Linked DNA regions of Homo sapiens: region 2 is linked to region 1. The links are contacts of gene promoters, found by promoter capture Hi-C in blood cells and fetal thymus (Javierre and others, 2016). All regions are on one chromosome and are shown on one strand. The core of a region is centred on a gene start or on the middle of the fragment in contact, and the rest is flanking DNA. Distances in the headings are between cores, read along the strand shown.

What was found. The method cuts DNA at HindIII sites, captures the fragments that hold promoters and counts their contacts. A CHiCAGO score of 5 or more calls a contact.
Region 2: a fragment that was not itself captured here is called in contact with the fragment with the promoter of H2BC4 in region 1 in 1 of 17 cell types (monocytes); the score reaches 5.9 in monocytes.

What each region holds. Positions count from the first base shown.
Region 1 is chr6:26,121,390-26,127,678 of GRCh38, reverse strand. H2BC4 (H2B clustered histone 4) reads left to right here and starts at 3,753. Exons shown (of 1, transcript NM_003526.3): 1 at 3,753-4,212. The coding sequence starts at 3,775. The coding sequence ends at 4,155. H2AC6 (H2A clustered histone 6) reads right to left here and starts at 3,507. Exons shown (of 1, transcript NM_003512.4): 1 at 2,989-3,507. The coding sequence starts at 3,446. The coding sequence ends at 3,054. RefSeq lists enhancers at 3,131-3,340, 3,431-3,570, 2,905-3,590, 2,398-3,597, 3,841-4,580 and 5 more and a silencer at 3,604-3,969. The HindIII fragment of the contact is 15,442 bases long and covers 1-6,289 here.
Region 2 is chr6:27,113,887-27,120,175 of GRCh38, reverse strand. No RefSeq gene overlaps it. Among named protein-coding and RNA genes, the nearest start is that of H2BC11, 16 kb to the left of the region's middle. RefSeq lists an enhancer at 4,866-4,965. The HindIII fragment of the contact is 4,621 bases long and covers 1,203-5,823 here.

The DNA.
Region 1 (6,289 bases), core at 2,504-5,003:
CTATTAGCAACCTATTAGTCTAATATTTAATACTTAATGTCTTCCTTAGTAATAAACCAACTCTCTACAACAAAGTGCTTCCTGGCTGCCTAAGTCATTGATTCATTCAGTTCAACATTTTCTCAATGCCCAACAGCCAAGTGTCTCTTGTATGCCAAGTTCTATGCTGATTATCAGTATTTGAATAAGAGGGGGTCTACATCTTAAGTACTGCTTAAGATGAAAGCCTCTAGGTTAACAAACTTAACACAATGTATCATTCACTACTAAATAGACCGAATACAAAATCTTGTTATTGGAGCCCAGAGAGAAGAATTGAAATTCAAGTTTTCTCTCTCTCCTTTTCTCACTCACCACAATAAGTCAGTTGCACCAAGTCTTGTAGCTCTTTACTGAGCCATGTTTTCACGTGTCCCTTTGTTTTATTTGCCACACCCTAAATAAAAATTGTACTGGCTTTTTTTCCCTGGGTTTACAGTATTAATACATTGTCAAGATTTACCTCTTCGTGTAGATTCCCTGGGGAAAATTACCTTTCCTCCTTCCCTTAAATTCTTCAGAGGTTAGAAAGCCATTAGTAACATTCTGGTATGTGGACAAAGTTTACCCATTATGTATGGATGTTTTACTCTTTCTATTTTTCTGACAATAATCTCTTAAGGAGGTGTGGTTATAGAATAGTCAGCTGTTATAAGTACTGTTTTCCTGGCCTTACAACTTAAGTTCTTTAAGCTGTTTCTTAGTTTGCTCATCTCAAAATTCGGAATAAGGATAAAACCTATCTCTTAGATTGTTGGATTAAATGAATTAACATACTGGAAGCTCATGAAATGTGCCTGGCACACAGTAGTGCCTAATAAACCATCTCTCTTATTCAGCCTGTTTTCTGATTTCAGAATCTACACTTGCTGAGCCAGGTTCTTTTCATTTCAAGGTGAGCAAAAGCATACAAGGAAGAGATGGAGGTAGGAAGAGATTAAGCCCTAGGCCAAGGTCACACACCGATTGGGAGCTGGAATCAAAGGCAATTTGGTCAGTGAATAAAAAGGATTCCAAGGCCCATAAGGCAATTCTAACCTTAGGATCGAAATTCTCGGACATACAGGAAATGCTGGGGGGGGAAAATCCGGTCTTCTCAGCCCAAGAGCCATGTGAAACCAGACCTTCAAATCTGATGATTCTCAGCCCAGCTGCCCATTAGAATCGTTGTAATTTAAAAATACCCTCGGAAAATTCTAATATGTGGCTATCAAAGGTGATCATTTGCTTTTATGCCACTTTGTTTTCACCCAAATGGGACATCCAACCCTTTTCCTTTGAGAGTAGTTGTAGGGAAAGGAGGGGGTGGAGGGAGGGAAGAGCGGAAAAGGCTGGATCCGCCCTGAGCCGGTGTCAGTATCTGGGAAGTGGGAGGCGCGTCAGCAGTAAACAGCTTCTGCTAGGATTATTATCTCCTGCCACACACTCGGATTTGAAGGCTCCAAACGAAACAATGCAAAACGCTTCAGTGGAGTTCCAGAAGCGTTAGACTAAACGACTGGGTCTGTTTGGCCAGTCTGAGCAGCTGGGCGCAGATGCATAGGCAAGACTTAGCCCGCCTAGACTTTTCTGCCCACTTAATTCCGATCAAAGCAGAAACCGGCCGGGCGCGGTGGCTCACGCCTGTAATCCCAGCACTTTGGTAGGCAGAGGCTGGCGGATCACCTGAGGTCAGGAGTTCGAGACCAGCCCGGCTAACCTGGTGAAACTCCGTTTCTACTGGTGGCGGGCGCTTGTAATCCCATCTACTAGGGAGGCTGAGGCCGGAGAGTCGTCTGAACCCGGGAGGCGGAGTTTGTATGCAGTGAGCCGAGATCGCGCCACTGCATTCCAGCTTGGGCAACAGGAGCAAAACTCCGTTTCAAAAAAGCAAGCAAACAAACAAAAAAATGCAGAAACCGAGATCCGGAAGAAAACCTCGGCGAGATTCACAGAATCCAGGAAAATAGGTCTCTAGAAATTTGTCCATGGTCCCAGATCTCCATTTCTTGTGGGTGGGGCAGCTGTTACCAGATCCCTAGAAGCAAAGGTTTTTTTGGGGGACCGTGTCTCACTGTTGCCCAGGCTGGAGGGCAGTGGCACGATCTCGGCTTACTACAACCTCCGCCTCCCAGGCTCAAGCGACTCTCCTGCGTCAGCTTCAAGAGTAGCTGGGATTACAAGGTATGTGCCACCACGCCCAACTTATTTTTTTATTTATTATTTTTATTTAGTAGAGAGGTGTTTCACCATGTTGGCCAGGTTAGTGTCGAAGTCGTGACCTCAGGTGATCAGCCCCCTCGGCCTCCCAAAGTGGTAGGATTAGAGGGGTGAGCAGAAAGCAAAGGTTTTTGAGTGGCCACAGGCCCCACTCTATTTCCTTTTCTGCCTGTAATGGCAACCTAGACGCTTGAGCTTCTTAAAATACAAGAGTAAGTTGCATGTCAGGCACCGTTCTACATTAGGGACATTAGTCTGTTTTACAGACACCTTTCAACTCCCTGGTTAACTTTTAGGTAATATACTCTGCACTTTAGCAGGAATGGGACCTATAACTCTCACAGAATTAGGAAAGTGAGGCTGCCTACAGCCTAAATTGAGAAAAAAATAGACGGGGGACTAGTCGGAGGACCAAACAAGGTTACCAACACGTTAGAGTTTTGCCTTCAATTTACATTTTTAAAGTAATCACAACGAAGTGTTTAGATCACGAGGCATCCCTGCATGTAAACTGTTAGGCACTAACTATGGTCGATCTTACAAAGCATTAACTAGAATATTTCTTTAGAGTATGATAGTACGTAACTGACCTACTATTACATACAAACAGACCAACCTTTAGTAACAGCGCTCCCCAAAAACCGAAAAGCAGTAATACGCTTTGCTCAAGGTTGGCATAAAATTAACTTACCTTAGTGCCTTTTTTCCTTCTACCTACAAGCAGTGAGGTTAGCTCTTCCTTTGAAACGGTAGGGGGGCTCTGAAAAGAGCCTTTGGGTTTGATAGCGTTTCCGGGAGCTCAGATACCTGTCAAATCACTTGCCCTTGGCCTTGTGGTGACTCTCGGTCTTCTTAGGCAGAAGCACGGCCTGGATGTTAGGAAGGACGCCGCCCTGAGCAATGGTCACCCGGCCTAGCAGTTTGTTGAGCTCCTCGTCGTTGCGGATGGCCAGCTGCAAGTGGCGCGGGATGATGCGAGTCTTCTTGTTGTCGCGAGCCGCGTTGCCGGCCAGCTCCAGGATCTCGGCGGTCAGGTACTCTAACACCGCCGCCAGGTACACCGGCGCGCCTGCCCCAACCCGCTCTGCGTAGTTGCCTTTACGGAGCAGGCGGTGCACTCGGCCCACCGGGAACTGGAGACCAGCGCGAGAAGAGCGGGATTTCGCTTTGGCGCGAGCTTTGCCTCCTTGCTTACCACGTCCAGACATTGCAATCAGACAAAAATCACCAAAACCAGCGGCCTAAGCTCACGAGAAAACAAACAAAATCAAGAAATATGTAAAACATGGCCGCTTTTATAGGTAGTTCCTGGGGAGTAAATCCGACTTTTTGATTGGTCGGTAGCAAATGCTAGTCAGATAGCCAATAGAAAAGCTGTACTTTCATACCTCATTTGCATAGCTCTGCCCACGGATGACAACTGTGCAGTTTGTCTTCCAATTAACTAAGAGGTACTCTCCATCCCTCATTAGCATAAAAGCCCTATAAGTAGCAGAAATCCGCTCTTTACTTTCGACACATTTCTGGTGTTTTAAGATGCCTGAGCCAGCCAAGTCTGCTCCCGCCCCGAAGAAGGGCTCCAAGAAGGCAGTGACCAAAGCGCAGAAGAAAGATGGCAAGAAGCGCAAGCGCAGCCGCAAGGAGAGTTACTCTGTGTACGTGTACAAGGTGCTGAAACAGGTCCATCCCGACACTGGCATCTCTTCCAAGGCCATGGGCATCATGAATTCTTTCGTTAACGACATATTTGAGCGCATCGCGGGCGAGGCTTCCCGCCTGGCGCATTACAACAAGCGCTCGACCATCACCTCCAGGGAGATCCAGACGGCCGTGCGCCTGCTGCTTCCCGGAGAGCTGGCCAAGCACGCCGTGTCGGAGGGCACCAAGGCCGTCACCAAGTACACCAGCTCCAAGTAAACATTCCAAGTAAGCGTCTTAACACCTAACCCCAAAGGCTCTTTTAAGAGCCACCCAGATACCCACTAAAAGAGCTGTGGCCAGACGCCAAATTTTATTTGGCGGCGGAGGGGTATTAGAATATAGGAACTGGAGAGGGGTGGGGACAAGTGTTGCAGCTTAGAGAGGGACAAAGGGTCCTGAACCCGAAAGAAGCCAGCCATTAAAAATGGCTTTGGGGTCAATTCGTTGTGCTTAAATTTAAAATGGAGACAAGCGGCCATTTTGCTAACTCGGCGTTCCCGGAAGAAACCGCAGGCTCGCTTAGGTTTCAGACCCAGCTGTCTGTCCCTGTCTACGTCGCCAGGATCAACGGTTGCCGTAATGTCATAATTTCGCCACCAGCTTCTAGCCAATAGGCTGTCCTGTCATTTTAAATATTAACCAATCGAGGGAAAGCTGTTTTGAGACTCTGATTTACATAGCGGACCGGAGTGGGAACCTGGGCAGTAACTGCCTAAGGAAGGACTCCCCCTCTGTTTTCGTGGCGCACACCTTCGTAGTATACTGAAGGGTGTGTCTCCTGGGTTTCCAACTGCCCCGGTAATAGTCTTTTAACCTAATATGCGTCAGTTTTGATAACAACACTAAGGCAGTACAGAACTAAAGATGTAAGCACTGCGCCAGATGTTGCTTCATACATCTTATTCTATTCAACTGGTTTATTCAAGATTCAAATCAAATCAAATTTTGCTTGAATCCCAGTGCTCAGTCAGCCATAAATGGTGTGTTGCCTGATTGAAACTTAAAATCTCCGTAGGGGGCTTGTAACATGCAGACAAGTTTGAAAGTTGCTTTAGGAGAAGCCAACTCTTAACTGCTGGGTAAATTGACAAGCCTTCGAACACTGAACTGAAGGCCAGTAAGGACTAGGCGCTGGGTGGGGGAGAATGAAGAGGAGACGTCATTAAACTTAGCACATACACTGTATCTCCTAGAGGACTCTCCCTTCCTAGACAACTGCAGGCCGCTTTGTGGCCTGGGAAATTCCACATTCCCTTAAGTATTTTACTCATGGTCTTTTCCAGGTAAAGATTTTAAGATGAAGGGTTAGACGTAGTCTACCTATCTTTTTATTCAAGTCTAGAACACGTTTTTAGCACCTAGAAGTTTGCTTTCTCCATTAAAAACCGGGAATATACAATAAATAAAATTAGTGTTAAAGCAGATTTTTACAAACTTAAATACCATGTAATTTAGGTTACAGTTATTTAACATAAGGACTGTGTGATCTTAAATCTGCAATTTCTTTCACACCTGGGAAATAAACTAAGGCCTGTCTTTGGTGCCAGACAAGGCCTTATACTTGAACACTGCTGTGCAATCACAGGCTGCCTTGCCTAGATAACTTATCTGAGAAATTCTGATGAGAAATGAAATTTCCAGAGTCCCTCACAAGTAAATTTTTTTTTCTTTTTTTTTTTTTTTTTTGAGACGAAGTTTCTCTCTTGTTTCCCAGGCTGGAGTGCAATGGCGCGATCTTGGCTCACAGCAACCTCCGCCTCCCGGGTTCAAGCCATTCTCCTGCCTCAGCCTCCGGAGTAGCTGGGATTACAGGCATGCGCCACGACACCCTGGCTAATTTTGTATTTTTAGTAGAGACGAGGTTTCTCCATGTCGGTCAGGCTGGTCTCGAACTCCGGACATCAGGTGATCTGCCCGCCTTGGCCTCCCAAAGTCCTGGATTACAGGCTTGAGCCACCGCGCCGGGCCTAAATGGTTTTTTTTTTTTCTATGCCTCTAATGGACCTGGTCACTTATTCCCATTCAGACTGACCGCTCTCCTACCTGCCAACTAACTAATCAGTGTAACCAAAATCTGCAAACAAAATTCAGTATTCTTTCCCCGCCTTTTCCCCTTTCTCTTACATAGATTATGTTTTTGCCTGTGTTAGATGAAATAATTCTATTGCTTGTTCTCTCTTCTGTACAAGTACCCAGTAAGCAAATTATTAACTTCTTGGTCATTTATTTCTGAATTTTCCACCAAGACAGTGTTTATGTGAGTCATACAATAAGAACCAACAGAAATGTGTGTCTTGGAAACAGGTTGTCTATCCCTGGACCCTTTGAGTTTTCTGTTCACTTTCCTTTG
Region 2 (6,289 bases), core at 2,264-4,763, 990 kb before region 1:
AACGTGGGACTGTAACATTTCTCCCAAACTCAGAAGGAACCGAGAGACCAAAGTATGACTTGGACAAGTTCAGCTTGATAAGTAGATGAGTTTATTAGGACTTATATACAGGGCATTCCTGGACGGCAGCAAGACAGCTCTAGAGAGCTGTGTTGCCACCATCTCTAAGCTGCTTTTAAGCTAATGTTCTGGTCTTTGCCTACTGTGTTTAGGCAAGGAGACTGTTTTCCTTGATCAGATACTCTCTGGGATGTTTGGGTTCTCAGGGATACCTGCTCCTCAGCTGGGTACCATGGTCTTGGCTTATCACCCAGCCTTCAGGGTTCAAGTAGCAGATATCACCCTTAAGCAAGCTGGTGGAGGACTGTCACACTATAAGGCAGAAAAAGCATTTGACATAATTCAACATTCATTACTGATGAAAACTCTCAGTAAACTAGAAATAGAGGAGAACTTCCTAATGTGATAAAGTGTATTTACAAAAAATCTACAACTAAGATTATACTTAAAGACTGAATGTTTTCCCCCTAAGGTCGTAAACAAGATAGTCATGTTTGCTTTCACCACTTCTATTCAATGTTGGAAATTCTAGCTAGTGAAATTAGGGGAAAAAAGAAAGAGGAAAGAAAAGAAGGAACAATGGAAGGAAAGAAGAATCATCTAAATTGTGAAGATAGCACTTATTATTCTCAAATGACATGGCCATCTCATGTAGAAAATCAGAATGTACAAAAAGCTACTAGAGTTAATGGTTGAGTTCAGAAAGGCTGTAGGATGCAAGATCAATATTAAAAACTGCATTTGTATATACTAGTAACAATCAGAAATGTTTAAAAAGTTATAATAAAACTAAAATATGAAATACTTAGGGATAAGTTTGAGAAAAGATGTGAAATATCTATACACTGAAAACTACAAAATATTTCTGAGAGAAATTGAAGAAGACTTTAATACTTGGAGAGATAAAACTTGCTTATAGGCCAGAAAACTCAGTATTGTTAAGATAACAATTATTCTCAAACGAATACACAAATTCAACACTAACCCAGTCAAAACCCAGGAGGTTTCTTTGCAGAAATTGGCAATCTGATTCCAAAATTAATATGGAAATGAAAAGGATCTACAGTTGCCAAAACAACTCCGAAAAAGAACAAACCTGGATGGCTATCAACTACCTCATTTCACAGAATTATTATAAAGCTTCAGAAAGCCAGACAGCATGGTATGGTTGTAAGATAGGCAAGTAGGTCAATGGAACACAATAGAGAATCCAGAAACAAACCAACATGTATATAAACAACTGATGTTTGAAAGAGGCCCAAAGGCATCCTGGTGGAAAGGATAGTCTTTTCAAAAAGTAGTGTTAGAAAAATTGAATATCCACATGCAAAATATATATATATATAATATGTTATATATATATATGAACTTGTGTCTATACCTTGCAAAAATTAAAACAGTTCATACATTTAAACATAAAACCTAAAACTACAAGACCTCTACAAGAAAATGTAAGAAATTTTTATGACACTGGATTAGGCAAAGATTTCTTAGATATGACAGCAGAATTCATAAAAGAACAAACATGCATTGGATTTCTTCAAAATTAAAAATAGCTCTTTGAAAGTCAGTGTTAAGAAAATGAAAAATCAGGCCACAAACTCGGGGAAATACTTATAAATGCACTTACCTGATAAAGGACTGGTATCCAGAATGAACAATACTTAATATAGTACTCTCAACACTAAGAGGATAAACAACCCAATTAAATAAGTGGGCAAAAGATATGAACAGACACTTCAAAGAAAACATATTGTTAGCAAATAAGCACAGGAAAATACTTTGAATATCAGTCATTTGGGAAATGCAAACTAAAATCACAATCAAATACCACTACACATCTATTAGAATGCCTAAAATTTAAAAGACTGAGGGTGAAGTATTGGAAAGGACATAGCGGAATTGGAACTCTTATAAATTTGTCCTATGCATGTAAATACTATGGAAAACATTTTGACAGGTTCTTAAAAAGTTAATCATATAACTAATGTTGTTAATCATACTACCATATGATTCAGCCATGGCACTTCTAGGTATCTACTCAAGAGAAAAGGAAATATGTGTCCATATAAAGATTTGTACAAAAATACTCATAGCAGCTTTATTTGTATTAGTTAAATCTGGAAATAATCCAAATGTTCATCAATAGATGAATGGCTAAAATATTGTGGTATATCCCTGCAAAGAAATACTATTAAGCAACAAAAGAAACAAACTGTTGATTCAAAATATGTTACTCTTCTTTTTCTTTTTGTTTGAGATGGAGTCTCACTTTGTCACCCAGGCTGGGGCACAGTGGTGCAATCATAGCTCGCTGTAGCCTTGAACTTCTGGGTTCAAACCATCCTCCTGCCTCAGCCTCCTGAGTAGCTGGGACTATAAGTGTGTGCCACCACACCCAGCTAATTTTTAGAAATTTTTTTGTGGAGACGAGGGGTTGTGGGGGGGTGGTGCAGTTTCTCACTATTGCCCAGGCTGGTCTTGAACTAGTGGTCTCAAGTGATCCTTCCACCTAGGCCTCCCAAAGCACTGGGATTACAGTGTTAGCCACTGTGCCCAGCCTAAAATATGTTAGTTTTTTGTTGCTGCAAAATACATTAGCACAAACTTCAGGGTCTCAAAACAACATACGTTTATTATCTCAGGATAATAAATGATCAGGAGTCTGGGCATGACTTAGTTAGGTCTTTTGCTTAGGGTCTCACAAGACTAATTGAAGTGTCCCACCAGGATGCATTCTCATCTAGACACTTGACTGGGGAAGAATCCATGTCCAAGCTCACTCAGGTTGTTGGCGGAATTCATTTCCTTGCAGCTTTAGGTATGAGGACACCCGCTTCTTGCTGGTTGCTGGCTGGAAGACGCCTTTAATTCTGAGAGGCTGCCCGCACTTCCTAGAGGAGCTTGAAGCTCCTGGCCATGTGGACTTTCCCCACACGACCACTTACATCATGAAACCAGCAAGGACTGCTGAGTAAATAATTATGCTGAGTAAAAGAAACTGATCAAAATACAGTACATACTGGATTCTATTTTTACAAAACTAGAAAATACAAACTAATCTACAGTGACAAAGGTTAGATCAGTGGTTCCTTTGAGTTGGGGGACAAAGTGAGATAGGAGAAAGGTATTACAAAGGGGGACAAGTACATTTTAGAGGTGATAAGTTCACTTTTTTTTTTTTTTTTTTGAGACAGAGTGTTGCTCTGTTGCCCAGGCTCGAGTGCAATGGCGTGATCTTGGCTCCCTGCCATCTCTGCCTCCCGGGTTCAAGTGATTCTCCTGCTTCAGCCTCCTGAGTAGTTGGGATTACAGGCATATGCCACCATGCCCGGCTAATTTTTGTATTTTTAGTAGAGATGGGGTTTCACCATGTTAGTCAGGCTGGTCTCGAACTCCTGACCTCAGGTGATTCGCCCGCCTCGGCCTCCTGAAGTGCTGGGATTACAGGCGTGAACCACTGTGCCCAGCAAGTTCAGTGTCTTGATTAGGGTAACGGGTTCATATGAATACTTATGTCACACTCATTAACATGTATACTTTATGTGCAGTTTATCATATGCCAATTATACTTTAGCAAAACTATTTTTAAAAGCAAAAATGTAAAAAAAAAAAAAAGTAATTCTAAAAAAAAATGATAAAATTACACCCACAGCCCATTCTGTTGTTCTTCCTACTTCTGCCTCCCAATAGTGGCAGTCAGAGGGGAAGAAGGAGGACCCCAGGTCACAAGCAGCAGAGATGAATATATCTCAGTGGTTTGTGATGGTCTTGTCTTGTCTGAATGTACTCACATCTGAAACTCCATAGATCACAAAAGAATATGAAGTCATTGGCCATAACTGGATGCAGACTCATATTCACTGTGAAAATACAACAACATGGGATACGGAATAATGAAAAGAATTAAAAAATTTAATAATGACACTAACAAGAGTAAAACAACTTTAAATAATTGATCATTGGTCTCACTGTACTAAGTTCTTTATAAATAGTCATATACTTAATCTTGAAAAGAATTTTCCAAAGTGAGGTAGGAGATCAGCAGGACTTCTTTTCCAAGCACCGGTAATGACCATGCTGATCAAAAACAGGATGCAGTAAAAAAAAAACAACAAAAAAACCTCAGCAGAGTGGTGGCTCACACCTATAATCCCAGTGCTTTGAGAGGCTGAGGTGGGAGGATCCCCTGAGCCTAGAAGTTCGATATCAGCTGGGCAACATAGTGAGAACTCCATCCCTAAAAATGTAAGTTAAAAAAAAATTAGCGAGACATGGTGGCCTACATGTGTAGTCTCAGCTGCTTGTGGGGCTGAGGTGGGAGGATTGCTTGAGCCTGGGAGATCAAGGCAGCAGTGAGCTACGATTGTGCCACTGCACTCCAGCTGGGGCGACAGAGCAAGACCCTGTCTCAAAAACAAAAAACCCTGGCTGGGTGCAGTGGCTCACACCTGTAATCACAACACTTCAGGACGCTGATGTGGGCAGATCACCTAAGGTCAGGAGTTCGAGACCAGCCTGGCCAATATGGTGAAACCCCATCTCTACTAAAAATACAAAAATTAGCTGGGCATGGTGGCATGCACCTGTAATACCAGCTACTAGGGAGGCTGAGGCATGAGAATTGCTTGAACCCGGGAGGTGGAGGTTGCAGTGAGTCAAGATCGAGCCACTGCACTCCAGCCTGGGCAATAGAGCCAGACTCAGTCTCAAACAAAACAAAACAAAACAGCTGGCTGAAACCAGCAGATGGTGACAAAGCAACCTCTAGTTGCCCTCACAGCTCATTAGAATAAAGACACTCCCATCGGCGCCATGACAGTTTACAAATGCCATGGACATGACTCAGAAGTTACCCTATAGGGTTCTGGGAGCTCCCCCCACCCCTTTTCTAGAAAATTCTGAATAACACACTACTTAATTAGCATATAATTAATAGTGGGTATAAATATAGCTAGCCTGTGTGCTTTACTGTGGCTCTTTCTTCAGTTCTGGCTCCTGCTCTGACTCCTGCTCTGGACTGCTCCTGTTGCTGAACACTGCTCCTGCCCTTCCTGTCTGTTCTACTGGTGGAGCATCCACTTTGCTGTACACTGCTATTCTGGGCTGTTCTGCCTGTGGGTTAGTTGTGCTTTCTGCAGCATCCACCTTGCTGTACACAGTTGCTGTAGGCTTCTCTGCCTATGGGTTAGCCTTGCTTTGTGGAGCACCCGCTTTGCTGTACTATGCTGCTACTCTGGGATGCTCTATGGGTGAGCCTTGCTCTGTGGAGCACCTATTATGCTGCATGCTGCTACTCTGGGCTGCTCTGCCTGTGCGTTAGCTTGTGCTGTGTGGAGCGCCCACTTTGCTGCATGCTGCTACTTGGCTGCTCTGCCTGTGGGTTAGCTTGTGCTCTGTGGAGCACCCACTTTTCTGTATACTACTACTACAGGCTGTGCTGCCTGTGGGTTAGCACACAGGTCGCCCTTTGTTTATGGAGCAGTTTGCTGTACACTATTGGTCTAGGAAGTGTTTTTAAATTAACTCTGAAGCCAAAAGCCCTCCAGGGTTAAGTCCCAATTTTGGGGTTCACCTGTGTCAGCCTGGTGACCCTGAAGGAAGGAACCATCAAAATGAAGAGACCATGAAGGGAGCATCAAGATGAGCGGGTTGACCATCAAGATAAAGTTTGGAGTTGTGATACTGTAATGCTATATACTAGCCAAAGGCTCTTTTCAGAGCCATGTTTTCTTGGTGACTAACTGGTTGTACACTGAAGCTTTGGAAACCTTTGCCTGGACCCAAATTAATGGCCAATTGGCACCATGTGGTTTCTGTGATTTCCCTGTCATATTGACCTTTCTGGGTAAACCAGGAAATGAAAGTGGGGCCTCCAGCTAGTCCCATGTTCAGATTATGTCCCCATTGCCCCGTTTTTGACCATCGTCTATTAAATCTCTAATGACTGGCTACTTGATATTACCATTCAGTTCCTAAATGCATGGTTGTATGTCAGAGCCATGTTCCTTCTAGGATTGGGTTAGAGTCCCACTCTAGGGGGAATTTATTGGGTTATTGTCAGTCCCACTCTACGTGGCGTTAGAATTGAGAGTCCTGCCCTAGGGGCTTTGTTTTTTGGTCACCTTTCTAAGATTGGGGTTTAAATTTCCACTAAGGGTTCTTAATTTGGTCAGCGTTTTTTTACTTCCATACTTAAAGTGCCTTCTTTGTAACATTCCATTAGCTA